Regions from separate parts of the Homo sapiens genome. Here all the other regions are linked to region 1. The links are contacts of gene promoters, found by promoter capture Hi-C in blood cells and fetal thymus (Javierre and others, 2016). All regions are on one chromosome and are shown on one strand. Each heading gives the region's core, a stretch centred on a gene start or on the middle of the fragment in contact. The rest is flanking DNA. Distances are from core to core; before and after follow the strand shown. Region 1 holds the start of POMP (proteasome maturation protein). Region 2 overlaps FLT1 (fms related receptor tyrosine kinase 1). Region 3 overlaps FLT1 (fms related receptor tyrosine kinase 1). Region 4 overlaps FLT1 (fms related receptor tyrosine kinase 1). Region 5 overlaps FLT1 (fms related receptor tyrosine kinase 1). Region 6 overlaps FLT1 (fms related receptor tyrosine kinase 1).

Region 1 (2,683 bases), core at 100-2,599:
GGCCTTAGCCTAGCCTACCTTAAATGTGCTCAGAACACTTACACTAGCCTACAGTCGGCCAAAATCATCTAATACAAAGCCTACTTTATTAAAAAGTACTGGGTATCTCATGTAATTTATTGAATACTGTACTGAAAGTGAAAAACAGAATGGCTGTATTGGTACTCAAATATGGCCTCTACTGACTGTGTATGGATTTCACACCATCATAAAGTCAGAAGATTGTTGAACCACCAGAAGTTGGGGACCTTCAGCAGAGATGTGTGATTGTTGCTTTCCAAATGTATCTTCTATTACTTCCCTATATGAACATTCTCCTCCTTCTGGACTGCTTTATTGTAAAGTAACAAGGTTTCAACGCACAAAGAAAAGGTGAATTCTGACTTCTGGATTCTGTTATTGTCATTTTTCCCAATTTCCTTCTGTAAAATATCAAGATTAGTACTTGCTGTTTCTAATAAAGGAAGGAGCCGAGAAAGGCAAATCTACGAAAACCTAACTACTAGTTACATTTGAGAGTGCCTAAAAAACTTTTTAGATAACGATTAGCAGTATTTACCAATAGAAACTTTCTAGATTTGGATGGATGGCCTACCAGCAGTACCGATATCAGAGTCTGTGGCAATGGTGACTCAGTGTTCTTCTCAAATACCACAACTTCTAAGTTAAAAAGAAAGAGAAAGTGGTGGGGAGGAGAAGGAGGGAGGAGATATACTAACAATACTGGCAAACAGGGAATAGCAACTGTCTGATTTTTTCCCCTCTAACATCTAGCACACTACAAGCTCTCAAAAAAGTTTGTAGAGCAAAGCTGCGTTACACAAATGCGACCTATAGTTGTGGGCTGTTTACTAGGCAGTTACAAGGGCGGGGGCTGGGGGAGATGAGGAGTCTGAGAGCTCTGGGCTCCCAGAGGTTACCCGTCAAGGAAAGGGTCGCCAGCGCCACCCCACAGAACGTTGCACTTTCACGGCTGCCTTTTCCACTTCTGCGCCAAGTAAGGGGAGGAGGTCTGGGCCTGCTGGGGTCTAAGGGATGGAAGGGCGCAAACCGAGCTAAGAGGAGCAGGATGAAGCCGAAGCACTGCTAGTGGGACTAGTGCCGGGCCCCGGCGACAGTCACGACCCACCCAAACCCCGTGACTCGACAGATTATGGCGCCTGAGGCCGGCCTCAGCCCCACGCTGCCGCCGCCGCCGCCACCGGGGACGGGTTGGGAGGCGACTGCCTGTTTCTGCCGAGCCACGGTCCCGAGCCCGCGTGGAACTCCAGCCGCCCGGGTACCCACTCACCATCTTCCGCAGCTCTGCGAACAGCCTCTCTGCCCCGTTACCGTCAGTCGACCCCGCCGCTCACTTCCGTTTCCGAGGGCTGGCCCCCACATCCGCCGGAAGTGCGTCCGTCCTGGCGAGGAAGGAAGGAGGGCGCGGGACGCCGGAGGGAGCTGCGCGGGGCCGAGGCTCCCACGCTTGCAATCCCAAGGGACCCAGGGCCAAGGGCGCAGTAAGGGTGTGGGCTGGGAGGAGGGAGGGGTCGGGACGAGACGTGCCTGAGGGGAGGGAAGACACGGACTCCGGTTTATTAATAAACATCTACGGTTTGTACGGCATTTTAAGATGTGCAGTGTGCTTTTGTAGGTACATCGCCTTATTTAACACAAAACCTCTCTGAGGTAGCTATTACATTTCACAGAAGGGTAAACGAGGCGTAGGTGGTTTGAGTGATTTGCTTGAGATCGTTCGGCTAATAAAGCAAAATTGGGACACAAGGCTTTTGTCATTTTTAAAAAACATAATATTGAAGGCCTGGTATGTTCCGAACCCTGTGCTGAGGCTAGGAATACAAAAAAGGACCAGGCCGGTGTGGCCTCTGGGCTAGAGGAGCAGGGGTACTCCGGAGGCTAGAGGGGAGAGAGGGGACGATAGTGACTACAAATTAAGTAAATGTGATCATGACCGACATATGTTGGGCCCTTTGAATTGCGTTATCAACACAGTTCTAAGTGCTTACATCCTTTATCTCTTTTAATCTTTTCAATAACCTTACAAGTACAATTTACAGGTGAAGAAACCGAGACATGAAGGGCTTAAATAAATATGCCTAAGGACATATTTATGAGTCTAGAATCCATGCTCATTACACTATTCTGTATTGTTCAAATATAATGTAATAAAACGGCCTTATAGTCTGCTGCCACAGGATGGAGACATCTTAGGGAATCTTTGGACTGACAGCTAAAAGATAAGAGCGAACTAGTTTGGGGTAGTAGGATATTTAAAACAACATTACGTGCAGATCTGCTTGTGCAAAAACGGAACTGGAAAGAAGGCCTAAGTCTGGCTAAAGTTCAGAAAGTAAAGTGGAGAGTACTGTGAGATGAGGTTGTAAGTAGATGGAGGCAAGTGGTTTTTGTTGTTGTTTTTGTTTGTTTGTTCTAAATAATGATAGGGTTTAGCTATGTTGCCCAGGTCTGCGTTGAACTCCTGGGCTCAAGCGATTCTCCTGCTGCAGCCGGCTGAGTAATGGGAACTACAGGCGTGCATCATGGGACCTAGCTACAGGTTTTTTATGCAGCCTTTGTAGGCAAGATTAAGGATGAGGCTTTGTCTTTAAAAAGCCATCGAAGGATTTGAGAGAGGAAAATGATAAGGCCATATATGTTATGTATATCCACTGCCATGGTC
Region 2 (2,683 bases), core at 50-2,549, 340 kb after region 1:
TGCCCCGCACCATGTGACCACCCAACCAAGCGGGTGTCCTTAGCAAGGATTTGCTGAGCTTCTCTGTGTGTTGTACGGTATGTTGAGATCTGTTGTAATCCCTGGGAATTTATTACTAAAACGTAGCTTTAAAGGGAGGAAAGAAACACTGAATTGTCCCCTCTTGGTCTTTTGTACCCTTAAGCCATAACAGGCCCTGTGTTTTCCACATTGTCTCCCGCAGGTGGGTCTCCATACCCAGGAGTACAAATGGATGAGGACTTTTGCAGTCGCCTGAGGGAAGGCATGAGGATGAGAGCTCCTGAGTACTCTACTCCTGAAATGTGAGCCCTTGGTGCCCTCTGCTCCCCATCTGACAGCTCGCTTTTCACCAGGGCATTCCTGAGAGGGGATGTTTTATGGATTCTTAGAGTCCCAGTCTTGGAAGATGCCAAGGTTCTTCTTTCCTTTAGAGATGCTCCCCTCAGCCCATCAGGCCCAGATATGCTGGGAGTGTTTTCTTGCAGTGGGGCACGTGGCCCTTGACCCATCCCTACCTATTTCCTGTCCTGACCACTGACATGACTTTTCAAGGGCTCTAGCTGGGAACTGAAGTTAGAAATTCAGTTTCTAGGTATGAATCCAGGCAAAACAAACAGACCACCCAGGAACTGAATGCAAGACCTTGGCCTCACTCACGGAGTGGGAGCCAAACAGGCCTAGCAGCCCCAGGGATGGAGGGCTAGACCTTGGTCTTGTGACCAGTCCTGTGTCTGCACAGAACACCCGTGAGGGGGTTGATGTGGTCTGCAGAACAGGTCTTGGAGAGGAAAAGGGGAACTTCCTGATGTCATGATTATGCTTCACAGAAGGCTTTGTGGGCAATACAACTTCTTTAGAATCCTTTGGGAGGAATAGGGGCCGGGCGCAGTGGCTCACATGTGTAATCCCAGCACTTTGGGAGGCAGAGGCGGGCGGATCACTTGAGGTCAGGAGTTCGAGACTAGCCTGGCCGACATGGTGAAACCCCGTCTCTACTAAAAATACAAAAGTTAGCCGGGCCTGGTGGCAGCTACTTGGGAGGCTGAGGCATGAGAATCACTTGAGCCTATGAAGCGGAGATTGCAGTGAGCCAAGATCACGCCACTGCACTCCAACCTGGGTGACAGAGTGAGATTATGTCTCAAAAAAAAAAAAAAAAAAGAACCTTTTAGGAATAGGCCCAGCAGCTGTCTGAAGCTGCCTGGTCAGATGGCTTTTCGGGTGTCCATGTGAGGCTTTCTCCACTGTGCAAATTGCACTTGCTTGCCTGTCTTGGACACTTTTTTTCCTGGGGCTTTGTGGATGTTTTGCACTTTGAGGCCTGAGCAGGAATGTGATGACACTTGCACTTTTGTGGAGCTGCTGACAAGGACTTGGGCCTCCCTGAGGCGGCACCACCTTTCCTGAACTGGCAGGGGCCCTCCCATTCCACCCACACAATGGGGTCCTGTCAGAAGCCCTGGCTGGCCTTTCAGAAGGAATCAGAGGGAATGCAGGAAGTGTGGGCTTGGCCAAAGGGCAAAGTCACTGTCTCTTTCCTTCATCATCTCGGGGTAAGGGTAGGTCAGACCCAGGATGGGGAACTGGACGAGGTGGACAGGAGACTCAGGCCCAACAGCAGGGCTGGGGAGCTCTGCCTGAGCGTAGGGAAGCGGGAGGGGACCTGTTCTTGTCACTGGTGCGTGGTGTCCTCATCAGAAAAGTACAGGGAGCTGAGGCAAGGCCTGTTTCTGAGAGCTGGGGATAGAGCTAGATGATTAACTTTATGATTTTCTAAGTGTTTTCCCACACATAGTCTCATTTGAAGTTCCCAGAGACCTTGAGGGGTGGTCAGGGCAGCTATTGTAATCTGAATTTAGCAAGTAATGAAACTGAGATGCCGAGAACTGAAGCAATGTGCCGTCTGTCAGCTGAGAAGCAAAGGAGACATTTAGAACCCAAGCCTCTGGACTGATGTCCCTAGACCACGGCTGATGAATTAGGAACAGACCCCACGTTCCTCAGTAGAAATGCTTCTCTGATATGGCCACTCATGCTTTGAATTAAATATGTCCTTCCAATCTTCATATAGTCTGAAAATCTCGAGAAAGTTCTCAATTACACTAATAGTTGTTATTATTAAATAACAATATTTTTACATCAAAATAAATGCAAAACAGTATGAAATTAAGTTTTATTTTTACTTCCATATAAATTCTAAATAGTATGAAATTAGTTTAGTTGGGTTTTTTTGTTTGTTTTTTTGAGATAGTGTCTCGCTCTGTTGTCCAGGCTAGAGTGCAGTGGCGTGATCTCAGCTCACTGCAACCTCCACCTCCTGAGTTCAAGTCATTCTTTTTCCTCAGCCTACTGAGTTGCTGGGACTACAGGCATGTGCCACCACGCCTGGCTAATTTTTATATTTTTTTGTAGAGATGGGGTTTCTCCATGTTGGCCAGGCTGGTCTCGAACTCCTGAGCTCAAGTGATCCACTGGCCTTGGCCTCCCAAAGTGTTGGGATTACAGGCGTGAGCCTCCATGCCTGGCCTGAAATTAGTTTTTATTATAACAGTATTGAATAGTACTGATTAAATAGTTATTTGGTGCTTATAAGTGCCACTATTTTAAGCATTAATTTATTTAATGCTCATAACAGTCCTATAAAGTAGGACTACCATGATCC
Region 3 (2,683 bases), core at 61-2,560, 320 kb after region 1:
GAAAAACATTGATACTTTATCCCAAATAAAGCAAGGAATAAACCTCCAACCAAAATGCACCAGTTTTTACTAGTATAGAGAAGGCATCTGCCAGCGCTGTTCCCACACCGGATTTTCAGATGTAGCACTTTCAGGATCCACTGGAGGCTCTTTTATTTCAAATCGAGGGTCCCCATCCTGGTCTATTTCTTCAACAATTTTATGCGAAGAAGGAAGCAGAGGCTGTAGCTCTGCCCGTGTTGCATGCTCTGGGAGGAATGTCATTTAGTAATCACTACGGGAGCATGTTTCACAAAAAGAGAAACGTGTCGTCTCCCCAGTGTTCTCTCTGAATGCAGAGCATGTCCCTGCAGACAGCCACACAGAGGCCCTAATGATGACACTGGTATAAGTGAAATTTTCATACATCCTAACTGGACACCTGGGGTGGTGGGTAGTAGAAGACATTAAGCAGAGCAAGGTAAAGACATTTTTGTCACTGAGTAGTTGGGCATAAAAGTAGAAAGGTTCTAATATGATGAGGAAGAAGCAAAGCTTCATTACAAACTACAAGAAAATTTTTTAAAAATGCCCTTTGGGGAAAGGGAGTGGAGTAATGAGGAAGGAAGGGAGGAAAGAAGGTTCATTAACTGAAGGCACATTATCAGACGGGTCTAAGAAAGAGCACTTGGTTGGGAAAGGAGGGGTTGTGTTAAATTAACACTCTAACTGCCAGGATTTATAATAGTTTTAACCAACCAGTGGTATTCTGTCATTTCCCCTTCCCCCAAGAAAAGCCAAAAAAAGACTGACTTACTTCACTTACTCTTCTTTGGGTATATCATGCTGGAGGTGCACCATTTCTCTGGGTTCTATTGAGCTGTTTCCTGATGTGCAAAAGGAGGTTCCCTGATATAAAAGGCAGCTTAGGTACTCCAGGGAGTGCCCTCCCTAAAGGGCATCAATCTCAGGGTCTCCATCCCATGGGCCCCTCTAGTTACCTATGACTAGGAGACTTGCTTTGGGCAACCCACACATTCCTGAACACCACTCTCCATTCTGCAGCAATATTCAGTAATAACAGATAGCACCAGGCACCAAGTTAGGTTCTGGGAAGATTCAGACATGGTCCTTGCCCCCCAGAGTAAAGGGGGGCAAGGACTCCCTGGGTCATTCTAGGATAGGGAAAGAAACATATTAACAGTCATTATAGCATAGCATTATGGGGACCATGAAAGGAACCTTGCTTAGTTATTGCATTTAGCAACTACCTCTCTGGGGTTGAAACAAATCACTACCAGTGGTTGACCAGGCTCCTGTGCTGAACCACGAGGATTTGTAATCTTCACCTAAGACACATTAGAAAGACTGGAAATATTTTGCCTGGTAGGGAAGTCGGATAAATGACTTAGTGATTATTTTAAAGTTATGAGCATTATTATAATCCACAGTAGTAACCACCATTTTCTATTTCTCCCTTTTTGCTGAAAACAGATGAGAGAAAAATGACTGTAAATGGAAAAAGAAAAAGAGCTTAGGTTCCACACAGGGAAGTCTTCTTGGTCATAATGTTATTAAACAATGGAAGAAACTACACGGGACTTGGTCCCATCTCTCCTACGGGAGAACGCTGTGGAAAGGAAACTGGACATCTACCTTCACTGAATGCCTTCTAGGGACTTACTCTATCTTTGAAGGATGTGGGGCCTCAGGAACAGAGTTAAGAGTTGAAAGGAAGAGACTCCAGAAATAAGTCCCTTACTTTGTCTCTTTTAGGGTTAGTTCACTGGAGATTCCATGCCTCACATGCACACATAGGAAAAGGCATTTCCTTCCTGAAAAAGACTTAAACTCACCCTATTGCCTCGGCAAACAAACCAGTGTCTTCTCTTCATTACAGGCAAATCACTTGGAAGAGGGGCTTTTGGAAAAGTGGTTCAAGCATCAGCATTTGGCATTAAGAAATCACCTACGTGCCGGACTGTGGCTGTGAAAATGCTGAAAGGTATGTATGCTGTAGTTTGGCTTTCAACTGACCCATCACCATTTTGCATTTCCTAAATGTTGGTACAAGTTAGATATAGCCTGGGAACAGACACAAGCTTTTCTGCTCTGGACACATAATTTTCTTCTACTGCTAGAGGCCTCTTTGCTCACGAGTTTTAGATTAGGCCAGCACGAGCTCAGAAGAAACCTTGTAAATGGAACAATCCAGCACTGTCCATAGGAAAATGATCTCTGTCACCTCAAAGGTCTTTCTCATCTCACATCACAGACTGTAGACAACAAGGGACTTAAGCCCATTGTAACTGCAGGTTCAGATTTTGGCATGATCTACTGTGATGTTGTAATGGAAACTTAGCAGCACATTCTAAATCCCAATGGCTTTGCTTGGGCTTGACCTGACTATAAAGTAAAACTATAAAGCTAGAACAATTGAGTTGATCAGAACTCTAAACTATTTTATACTAACTACCTCAGCCATAAAACATTTCCTCTTTAGCAGTTTAAAAACCTGAATTATCTTTCTAGTGTTGAAAGATACTACTACTCTGTGAAGCACTGGGAGGTAGAACCAAATCACACAGTGACTTATGCCCAACACCAAAGACAGATTGAAAATGAAAATCAGTGAAAGCTGTGTAAACCACATGTCTCAAAGACTCACAGGTCCTTTACAGTGTAGAAAATACTTCATTTCCTC
Region 4 (2,683 bases), core at 61-2,560, 300 kb after region 1:
GTGAGGTGCTATCTCATTTGGTTTTTTTCTTGTTTTTTGAGACAAAGTCTCGCTCTGTCACCCAGGCCGGAGTGCAGTGGCACGATCTCGCTCACTGCAACCTCTGCCTCCCCAGTTCAAGTGATTCTCCTGCTGCAGCCTCCCAAGTAGTTAGGATTACAGGCATTCGCCACCACACCCCGCTAATTTTTGTATTTTTAGTAGAGACTGGGTTTCATCATGTTGGCGAGGCTGGTCTTGAACTCTTGACCTCAGATGATCTGCCCACCTCGGCCTCCCAAAGTGCTGGGATTACAGGCATGAGCCACTGCACCTGGCCTCATTTGGTTTTGATTTACATTTTTGTGATTGGAGATGGTGAGTATTTTTTTCATATAACTGTTGGCCATCTGTCTTCTTTTGAAAAATGTCTATTTGATTTCTTTGCCCATTTTTAAATAGGATTATTGGTTTCCTTGTTATTGAGTAGTTTGAGTTCCTTGTATATTTTGGATATTGGCTCCTTATCTGATGTATGATTTGCAAATACTTTTTCCCAATCTGTAGGTTGTCTCTTCACTCTATTAATTGTTTCCTTTGCTGTGCAAAAGGTTTTTAGTTTGATGCAATCCCATTTGCCTATTTTTGCTTTCGTTGCCTGTGCTTTTGGGGTCATATCCAAGAAATCTCTTCCCAGACCAATATCGTGGAGTTTTTCCCCCACATTTTCTTCTAGTAGTTTTATAGTTTCTGGTCTTACATTTAAGTTTTTAATCCATATTGAGTTCATTTTTATATAAGGGATGAGAGAAGGGTCCATTTTCATTTTTCTGTATGTAGATATCCAGTTTTCCCAACACCACTTATTAAGGAGACTGTCCTTTCCCCATTGTGTGTTCTTGGCACCTTGTCAAAAATCAGTTGACCATAGATGTTTGGGTTGATTTCTGGGCCCTTGCCTATTCCATTGGTTGATGGATCTGTTTTTATAACAGTACCATGCTGTTTTGATTATCATAGCTTTATAATATTACATTTTCTTTTTTTAAGCTTTCAAATATTTCTCAACTTTTCTATATTGAGTACATCTTTCATAAGAGAAATACAAACTATTTAAACTAATGAAATACAGCCTATAGTCTGGCCAGGCCTGTTTTATCACTATTCTGGAACAAGTACTCAATTCCTGTTTATTTCCACATCATGCCATTTCTCATGCTTCCGTTTCTCATTTCACCTCTGACAATCCTTCAGACCTCAACTCGAGGCCCACCTCTTCTATGCAGCCTTCCCCAAGTACACCCTTCCTTACTGATCTCCTTCCCTGTGCCAGACCTTCCACTTAATTAGGTATACTGTGCTGTATTCACTCATTCTCATTCATTAAACATTTTCTATTTGTTGGCTTGTGTGTGTGAGTGTATGTGTTGAGCATGTGTGGGAGAGAGAGAATGTAAATGTGTGTGTTTGGTAGGAATTAATTTTTCCTTCTCAACAGATACCATGTCTTAGCCTGCCCACATCTTAGCCTGCTGTTTGTTTTGTAACACGAACTGATGGCAGAGTAAATACTCAACAGACCCTTGGTGATAGTACAAGGTATTGAAGCTTCAAGGTCTTGAAGCCTTTCAGGGGTCTGAAAATTCTTGGGACTCCTTCCACTACACTGTGCTCTGTAGTAATCCTTAAGCTTACATTTACTGAGCACTTACTATGTACCATGGGCTTGCCATTTACTATAGAGTAAGAATTACTTTCATTTTTATCTTAAGATTAAGGAAACTGAAACTTAGAAAGATCAAGTAACTTGCCTAAGTGACAAAGCTTGAAGCGCTAAGGCATGGATTAAAACACAGCCCAGGCAAACTCTTCATCACTAGGCTATATTGACTCACCAGGCCTTATGACAAATGAAATATTAGTTCCTTTGACCCATATGTCACAAATGTGCTTTCAGTCAAACTGCATGCTCTTGGTGAAGTTACTTAATCTCACAGAATCTCAGTTTCCTCATTTGTAAAAGGAAGACAATATTAGCTGACAGGCTGGTTGTAAATGTCAAGGTATGAAAGTGTGTCACATAGTGCCGAGCACACAGAGGGCGTTGAGTCAATGATAGTTGTTATTATTAGATATGCTGCCTTCTTGATATCTTCAACTTTCAAGTTGGGCATGGCAGCTGCCTCACATTTCTTTCTACAGGGTGGGTGGATTTGCATCTCCGAAGCTGGGGATCACAGCTCTGCTGGGTGGTGAAGGTGCTATTAGAAAGCCTGCAGAAAAAAAAAAAAAAAAAAAAAGGAAAGAAAAGAAAAAGAAAGCCTGGACCCAGAGAAAACAAATAAGCAACCCTGCCCCAGGTTCACTAGAGCTCGGATTTCCTTGTCTGAATGCATAATGATAGGAAGAAGGCTGTGTTACAGAAGTAGCTGTTTTTTGTTTGTCATCCAGGCCCACTAATCTAAACATCTCTCACCCCTCAGGAATTATTTTAGGACCAGGAAGCAGCACGCTGTTTATTGAAAGAGTCACAGAAGAGGATGAAGGTGTCTATCACTGCAAAGCCACCAACCAGAAGGGCTCTGTGGAAAGTTCAGCATACCTCACTGTTCAAGGTAAACAGCTGCTTAAGAAAGCAACAAGAAATTGGTCAGACATCTATTTCCCTGTTTGTTTAACTTTCCACCTCCCAGTCTCCTGCTGC
Region 5 (2,683 bases), core at 82-2,581, 280 kb after region 1:
CTACTGGCAACCCTCTTCACAGTGGCACTGTAAGGAAGTAACATAAGTTGGCCAAGAATATATGGCAGAAGGCCTATCTAGTTTAGGTTTGCACTGACACAGGCACAAACCATCTCACAAGTGATTGTGCTCTGAAAGAGTCATTAAAAGGCTGAAAAAAGTAACAAACCCTCCCTCTCTGGAAATATTTGAGAAAACAGAAGGCAATCTTGATCTTAGATGTTCTTAGTAAAGCCTGCCTGAACCAATAAACCATCATCAAACTATTATTTAAGCTAAATTTTTATGATAGCAAAACATTTTTAGAATATTTTAAGGTTAAAGCAGTAGTATTAGAACAACAAAGAGTTCAGAAAGAGTAAATTCTGTCTTAAACAGACTGAGGGTGGAGCAGGAGAGAATCACTCTAACCCAATGATTAATACTCCTTCTTAAATGAAATCTTCTTGATCACTAGGACTAAGTGTTTATCTAACTGTTAGAGGACATCTTTCCTGTCACACTATATCACTGACACCAAATGTCTGCATCTGTAGGCACCATATTCAGATCCTAGTACCTAAGAGGACAGAATCACCTCTGAATTATCAAGTGATTTGACTAGATCCAGGAAAGATCTTAAGGAACCTTAGAAGAGAGAGAGGAATGAGGCTGTTAATACCCAGGGATGAAAAACTGACCATCTGTCACGCTCAGGCTACTAGAATCAGCAGTTTTGCTTGATTCCTTAATCAAATTCCTTAATGAAATTCAGAAATGTCAAATATCTTTTGCAAAACTTGAGTTGTAGTTGCCTTTTCCTTCTCATGAAATCTATCCTTACGGTACACAATGAATGAAGAACTATTATTGCAGAAAAGAAATGTGAACAAGATATCCAGGGTGTGCGCAGAGCAGTGCCTGTGAGGGTGAGCTGGCTGCTCTACTTAGCACCCCTGAGACCAGAGCTGATCTGCTGGTGTGATTAGCTAAGCAGCTGTTCTCGCTAGCCCTGTCTCTTCAATATGTGTCATTAAGGTCAGGGGCTCTCTACATCCAGATCAAGGAAAACCAAGCTTCACTGCTGATATGCAAGTAGCTCTTCTTCCCTGCCAGGACTATGTTGCAGAATCAAGGCTCAGTTCTTTTCCAAGGATAAAGTTCTTTTAGGAGGTAGAAGAAAGGAGAGTAATGAAGTAAGAGAGGTAGTGGGGTAACAGCATGCGAAAACTAACCTGTTGACATTGCCAAAGTTCAGACCTACAACACTCATCTCAGCCAACAGAGGGAACCTGACTTTAACACAGCCCTATCATGGCAAAAAAAAAAAAATTGAAAATGTTGCTTTATGCGCTTTCTGCAATTCTGCAATTACTTGTTAATGTTTGGCTAGTTCAATGAGATTGAAAAGTACAGTGGTAGAGTTCTATAATTTATATTCAGAAAAGTAAAGTAATCCATGAGTAAAGTTCCATTTTGAATTGGAAAGCAATAGAAGCTATTTATGAAGAATCAGTCAGCCCCAAAGTATCTCTTTTTATTGGCAAGATTCAGGTGATTTAGGTCTTGCACCTACATGCATAGGTATACACACACATACATAGCAATATATCCTATCCTAAAGCTTTGCCTAAAGAAAATTTCCTGGATGCATTTTACAGCATAACATCCTCATCTCTATTCAGCCCAGAAAAGCCTCCTGAAAGCTGCTGGCCACAGTAAGGTCCAACTGAGGGATCATGCATTGGTCAACACAAACATCTATTCGTATGAATAGCAGGGCCCCCTGCTAGTTGTTTAAGTTTAGTGGTGGTGGTAGTGGTGGTGGGGTGTGTGTGTGTTTGTTTGTGTGTGTTAGGTCCTATTAAATTTTTAAATGAAAAATTTAGGACATAAGAAATAGGAGGGCCGGGCACGGTGGCTCACAACTGTAATCTCAGCACTTTGGGAGGCCGAGGTGGGCGGATCACAAGGTCAGGAGATCGAGACCATCCTGGCTAACACGGTGAAACCCTGTCTCTACTAAAAATACAGAAAAAATTAGCTGGGCATGGTAGTGGGCGCCTGTAGTCGCAGCTACTCGGGAGGCTGAGGCAGGAGAATGGCATGAACCTGGGAGGTGGAGGTTGCAGTGAGCCAAGATCGCGCCACTGTACTCCAGCCTGGGCGACAGAGCGAGACTCCATCTCAATAAAAAAAAAAGAAAAGAAATAGGAGAGAACTTGTAAATGTGGGCATCACTTTAGAAAAAGGGTTTTTTTGGGTTTTTTCTTTATATTTTGTTTTGTTTTTTGTTTGTTTTTTGAGACATGGTCTTGCTCTGTTTCCCAGGCTGGAGTGCAGTGACATGATCGTGGCTCACTGCAGCCTCAACCTCCCGGGCTCAGGTGATCCTCTCACCTCAGCCTCCTGCATAGCTGGGACTATAGTCACATGCCACCATACCCAGCTATTTTTTTTTCTTTTGTAGAGATGGTGGTCTTTCTATGTTGCCCAGGCCTCATTTTTTTAAATTGTGGCAAAATGCACATAACATAAATTTTATCATTTTAACCATTTTAAAGTGTACAATTAAGTGGCACTAAGTACATTTACAATGTTGCAAAACCATCACCACTATCTAGTTACAGAACTTTTTCATAACCCCAATCGGAAATCCCATGCCCATTAAAGCTTCTCCTTTTTTGACTATGAATTAACCTCC
Region 6 (2,683 bases), core at 106-2,605, 260 kb after region 1:
CTTGCAAAAGAGAGAATAATTTTTGTATGATCTTCAAGGAGGGAAATTCTTCTCTATCACCTTAAAGAATGATAATGTTAAGGGAGGGATTGTGTCATATTCATCTCTGTCTCTCTTACAACATCTGGGCAATGCCTTGATAATCACTCAATAAATGTCTGCTAAATTGTCTGCCACATATTGCAGACACTTTCATTACCAATAATTTCAATAATACACAGGGAGTATATGGGTAGGTGTAATTAAGCAGATCCTTCCAACAAACAGAAGAGAAAGCACTGTGTACTACTCACTATACCACAGTGAAAATTGTAGAGAATTTGGACCAATGAATTTGCTGGCTAAAAACATGAGGAACATGTGTTTAAGTCTTCCTGATCTGTAGATTAAAGACAGAAATACCTTAATTTATTAGATGGGATAAGAGAACACAACTAAAGTGCCTAGCACATTACTTAGAAACTCAAGAAAATGTTAGGACTCTCTCCTACAGCCAAACCACTTGTAGAGTATGTCCACCACCTTGGAAAGTCAGCTGTCACATTTCAGCCTTACATTACTTTAGCCTGTAAGTCACTTGTCATTATACTTCAGCAAGGACACTCTATTAGTCTGGAATCATTTGCACAGCCTCTGCAATTTCAAAGCCCATAACCAGTTATTTTTGTCCTAGGACATAGGCTGCAAAGATTTATAAGTAACTGGACTAACTTTTCTTTTCCATAATTTTAAGTATGAGAAACTAGCTTTCTCATTTTTTTCATATAGATTATACACTACTTTTTAATGCAAGCTTGGGTTAAATTTAAGAATGTTTAACAATTTGTTTCATATTGCCAATTTTTTTTCTTTGGAAGAATGCAAGTCTTTAAGTTGTCTAAAATTTTGTTTCATTACTTTTTAGACATCAGAATTTGGAAAGTGCTTTCAAGTTCATGCAATTTTGACTGCTAATGTTTCTTTAGGGACTAAGTTGTCAAATAATAGCACTAAAGTCTAGTGGAACAATATAATTGCATTAATTCATAATTTAAATTTTCATCTTCTAGATTAGGAATAGATACTTAATTTATTAAGAGAAATTAGGTAATTTACACACACACACACACACACACACACACACACACACACACACACGGTCTCCTTCAGGACCATCCAGTGCTGCATGCCACATTATTTGAGCATAGAAAAAAAGTTTCAAGCCAGGTACAGTGGCATGTGCCTGTTGTCCCAGCTACTTGGGAGACAAAAGCGGGAAAACTGCTTGAGCCCAGAAGTTCAAGGCCAGCCTGGGCAACATAGCAAGACCCCATTTCTTAAAAAAAAAAAAGTTTCAGCCAAACATTATCTTCTGTCCTTGCTCACTTAACATGCCTGTTATAGAACCAAACAGCAGAGAAGGCTCCTGTTATAACTGGCATCTATGCTCTCAGGTCACCCAAACAAAAGGGAAGGCCTCAGCCTCACCTGTTCCTCTCATTGATGTGGAACTGACCACCTCATAGGGTAGGACGTGCAGTCCCACATCTCAGCTTCAGGTCTGTAATTGTTACGCCAGCAGCACGAGATAAATAAGCCTGAAACCCTCATATGAGTCGGATGTCATAGGCCCCGGTCTCCTGAGGACCTGCTTTCCTGTTATTTTTCCATTCTTGTTGGGGCTCGGCAAGGGGAGAGCCTTCTGGTAACCACCACCTATGCAATACTCTCTTTGCAGAATGAATGGAGTAGCTGAATCATTTCAACCTCAGAAGTAGCTTGGGGTGTTCAATTAGTTATTTGTCCTGTTGCTAGCTAAAGTTTCCTTTTCTTTTGCAGATGGCTAGCACCTTGGTTGTGGCTGACTCTAGAATTTCTGGAATCTACATTTGCATAGCTTCCAATAAAGTTGGGACTGTGGGAAGAAACATAAGCTTTTATATCACAGGTAAGCCACACATCCTATAACCAGAGACAGCCTGGTGACTTCATTCTCTCTTCAGTCTTGTTTGCTTTTAGTGCATTTATAGCTTGAGTGATTTTTTTTTAATTCCATAGAATTGTCAAACTTTGAGTGCCTTCATCCTTGCTCTCAGGAATAGAATTCTACCTCATCGGATCTCGTAAGGAGTTATTTCCCTGTATTCTCTTTTAGAGTTATTTGTGTTTGTCTCCCTCCCAGACTGGATTATGAATTGGGAATCTTGTATGCTCATTTTTTCATTCCCTTCAGTACCTAGCACAGGGTCTGGTACATAGCAGTTCAATACCAATCAAGGAAACCAATTATAATGCATATAATATGATGACATCGTTTTTGGTTTTGTTTTTGTTTTAACCAAAAGGTTAATTTTTTTACAACTTAGGTAATTTAGACTTTTTGGGGAATGAGGCTCTGTAGCAATCTGAAACAGAGCTTTATTAACAATAGTTAATGTGCTATTTTTTGATAGCATTTAAGAATTTTTAGCCTTAAATATGATGGTCTCTGCAAATCTTAAAAACCTCCAAGGTACACAAATGGCACTCCCTATGTCCCTCAATGGGTACAGGAAGGAAGTAAGTAGCTCAAAGTATAAAAACAATTGCCTGGCTCCACACTCCCCCAATTTCTGAGGAAACATGGGCAGTAAGCCAACTTTCTGGAAACTTCTCACTGCCCGGGGCAGGCTGCAGAAATTGCCAAAAGTTCTCCAGAAAGAAA

The links. The method cuts DNA at HindIII sites, captures the fragments that hold promoters and counts their contacts. A CHiCAGO score of 5 or more calls a contact.
Region 2: a fragment that was not itself captured here is called in contact with the fragment with the promoter of POMP in region 1 in 10 of 17 cell types (M1 macrophages, megakaryocytes, M0 macrophages and 7 more); the score reaches 16.6 in M1 macrophages.
Region 3: a fragment that was not itself captured here is called in contact with the fragment with the promoter of POMP in region 1 in 11 of 17 cell types (M1 macrophages, monocytes, M0 macrophages and 8 more); the score reaches 15.1 in M1 macrophages.
Region 4: a contact is called between a fragment that was not itself captured here and the fragment with the promoter of POMP in region 1, in 7 of 17 cell types (M1 macrophages, monocytes, M0 macrophages and 4 more). The highest score is 9.8, in M1 macrophages.
Region 5: a contact is called between a fragment that was not itself captured here and the fragment with the promoter of POMP in region 1, in 4 of 17 cell types (M2 macrophages, monocytes, M1 macrophages and 1 more). The highest score is 7.0, in M2 macrophages.
Region 6: a contact is called between a fragment that was not itself captured here and the fragment with the promoter of POMP in region 1, in 7 of 17 cell types (M2 macrophages, monocytes, M0 macrophages and 4 more). The highest score is 14.2, in M2 macrophages.

The regions. Positions count from the first base shown.
Region 1 is chr13:28,657,796-28,660,478 of GRCh38, reverse strand. POMP (proteasome maturation protein) reads right to left here and starts at 1,349. Exons shown (of 6, transcript NM_015932.6): 1 at 1,292-1,349. The coding sequence starts at 1,294. RefSeq lists a silencer at 1,417-1,476 and an enhancer at 1,697-1,856. The HindIII fragment of the contact is 5,788 bases long and covers 1-2,683 here.
Region 2 is chr13:28,315,138-28,317,820 of GRCh38, reverse strand. It overlaps FLT1 (fms related receptor tyrosine kinase 1), which reads left to right. Exons shown (of 30, transcript NM_002019.4): 25 at 224-323. The region is part of intron 2 of LOC124903141 (a long non-coding RNA gene); the gene reads right to left. Among named protein-coding and RNA genes, the nearest start is that of PAN3-AS1, 180 kb to the right of the region's middle. The HindIII fragment of the contact is 8,639 bases long and covers 1-2,683 here.
Region 3 is chr13:28,333,326-28,336,008 of GRCh38, reverse strand. FLT1 (fms related receptor tyrosine kinase 1) reads left to right here. Exons shown (of 30, transcript NM_002019.4): 18 at 1,880-1,984. Among named protein-coding and RNA genes, the nearest start is that of FLT1, 160 kb to the left of the region's middle. The HindIII fragment of the contact is 1,547 bases long and covers 537-2,083 here.
Region 4 is chr13:28,357,465-28,360,147 of GRCh38, reverse strand. It overlaps FLT1 (fms related receptor tyrosine kinase 1), which reads left to right. Exons shown (of 30, transcript NM_002019.4): 15 at 2,463-2,594. Among named protein-coding and RNA genes, the nearest start is that of FLT1, 140 kb to the left of the region's middle. RefSeq lists an enhancer at 1,682-1,991. The HindIII fragment of the contact is 558 bases long and covers 1,032-1,589 here.
Region 5 is chr13:28,374,015-28,376,697 of GRCh38, reverse strand. All of the region lies in intron 14 of FLT1 (fms related receptor tyrosine kinase 1), which reads left to right. Among named protein-coding and RNA genes, the nearest start is that of FLT1, 120 kb to the left of the region's middle. The HindIII fragment of the contact is 548 bases long and covers 1,058-1,605 here.
Region 6 is chr13:28,396,204-28,398,886 of GRCh38, reverse strand. FLT1 (fms related receptor tyrosine kinase 1) reads left to right here. Exons shown (of 30, transcript NM_002019.4): 12 at 1,819-1,927. Among named protein-coding and RNA genes, the nearest start is that of FLT1, 98 kb to the left of the region's middle. The HindIII fragment of the contact is 1,120 bases long and covers 796-1,915 here.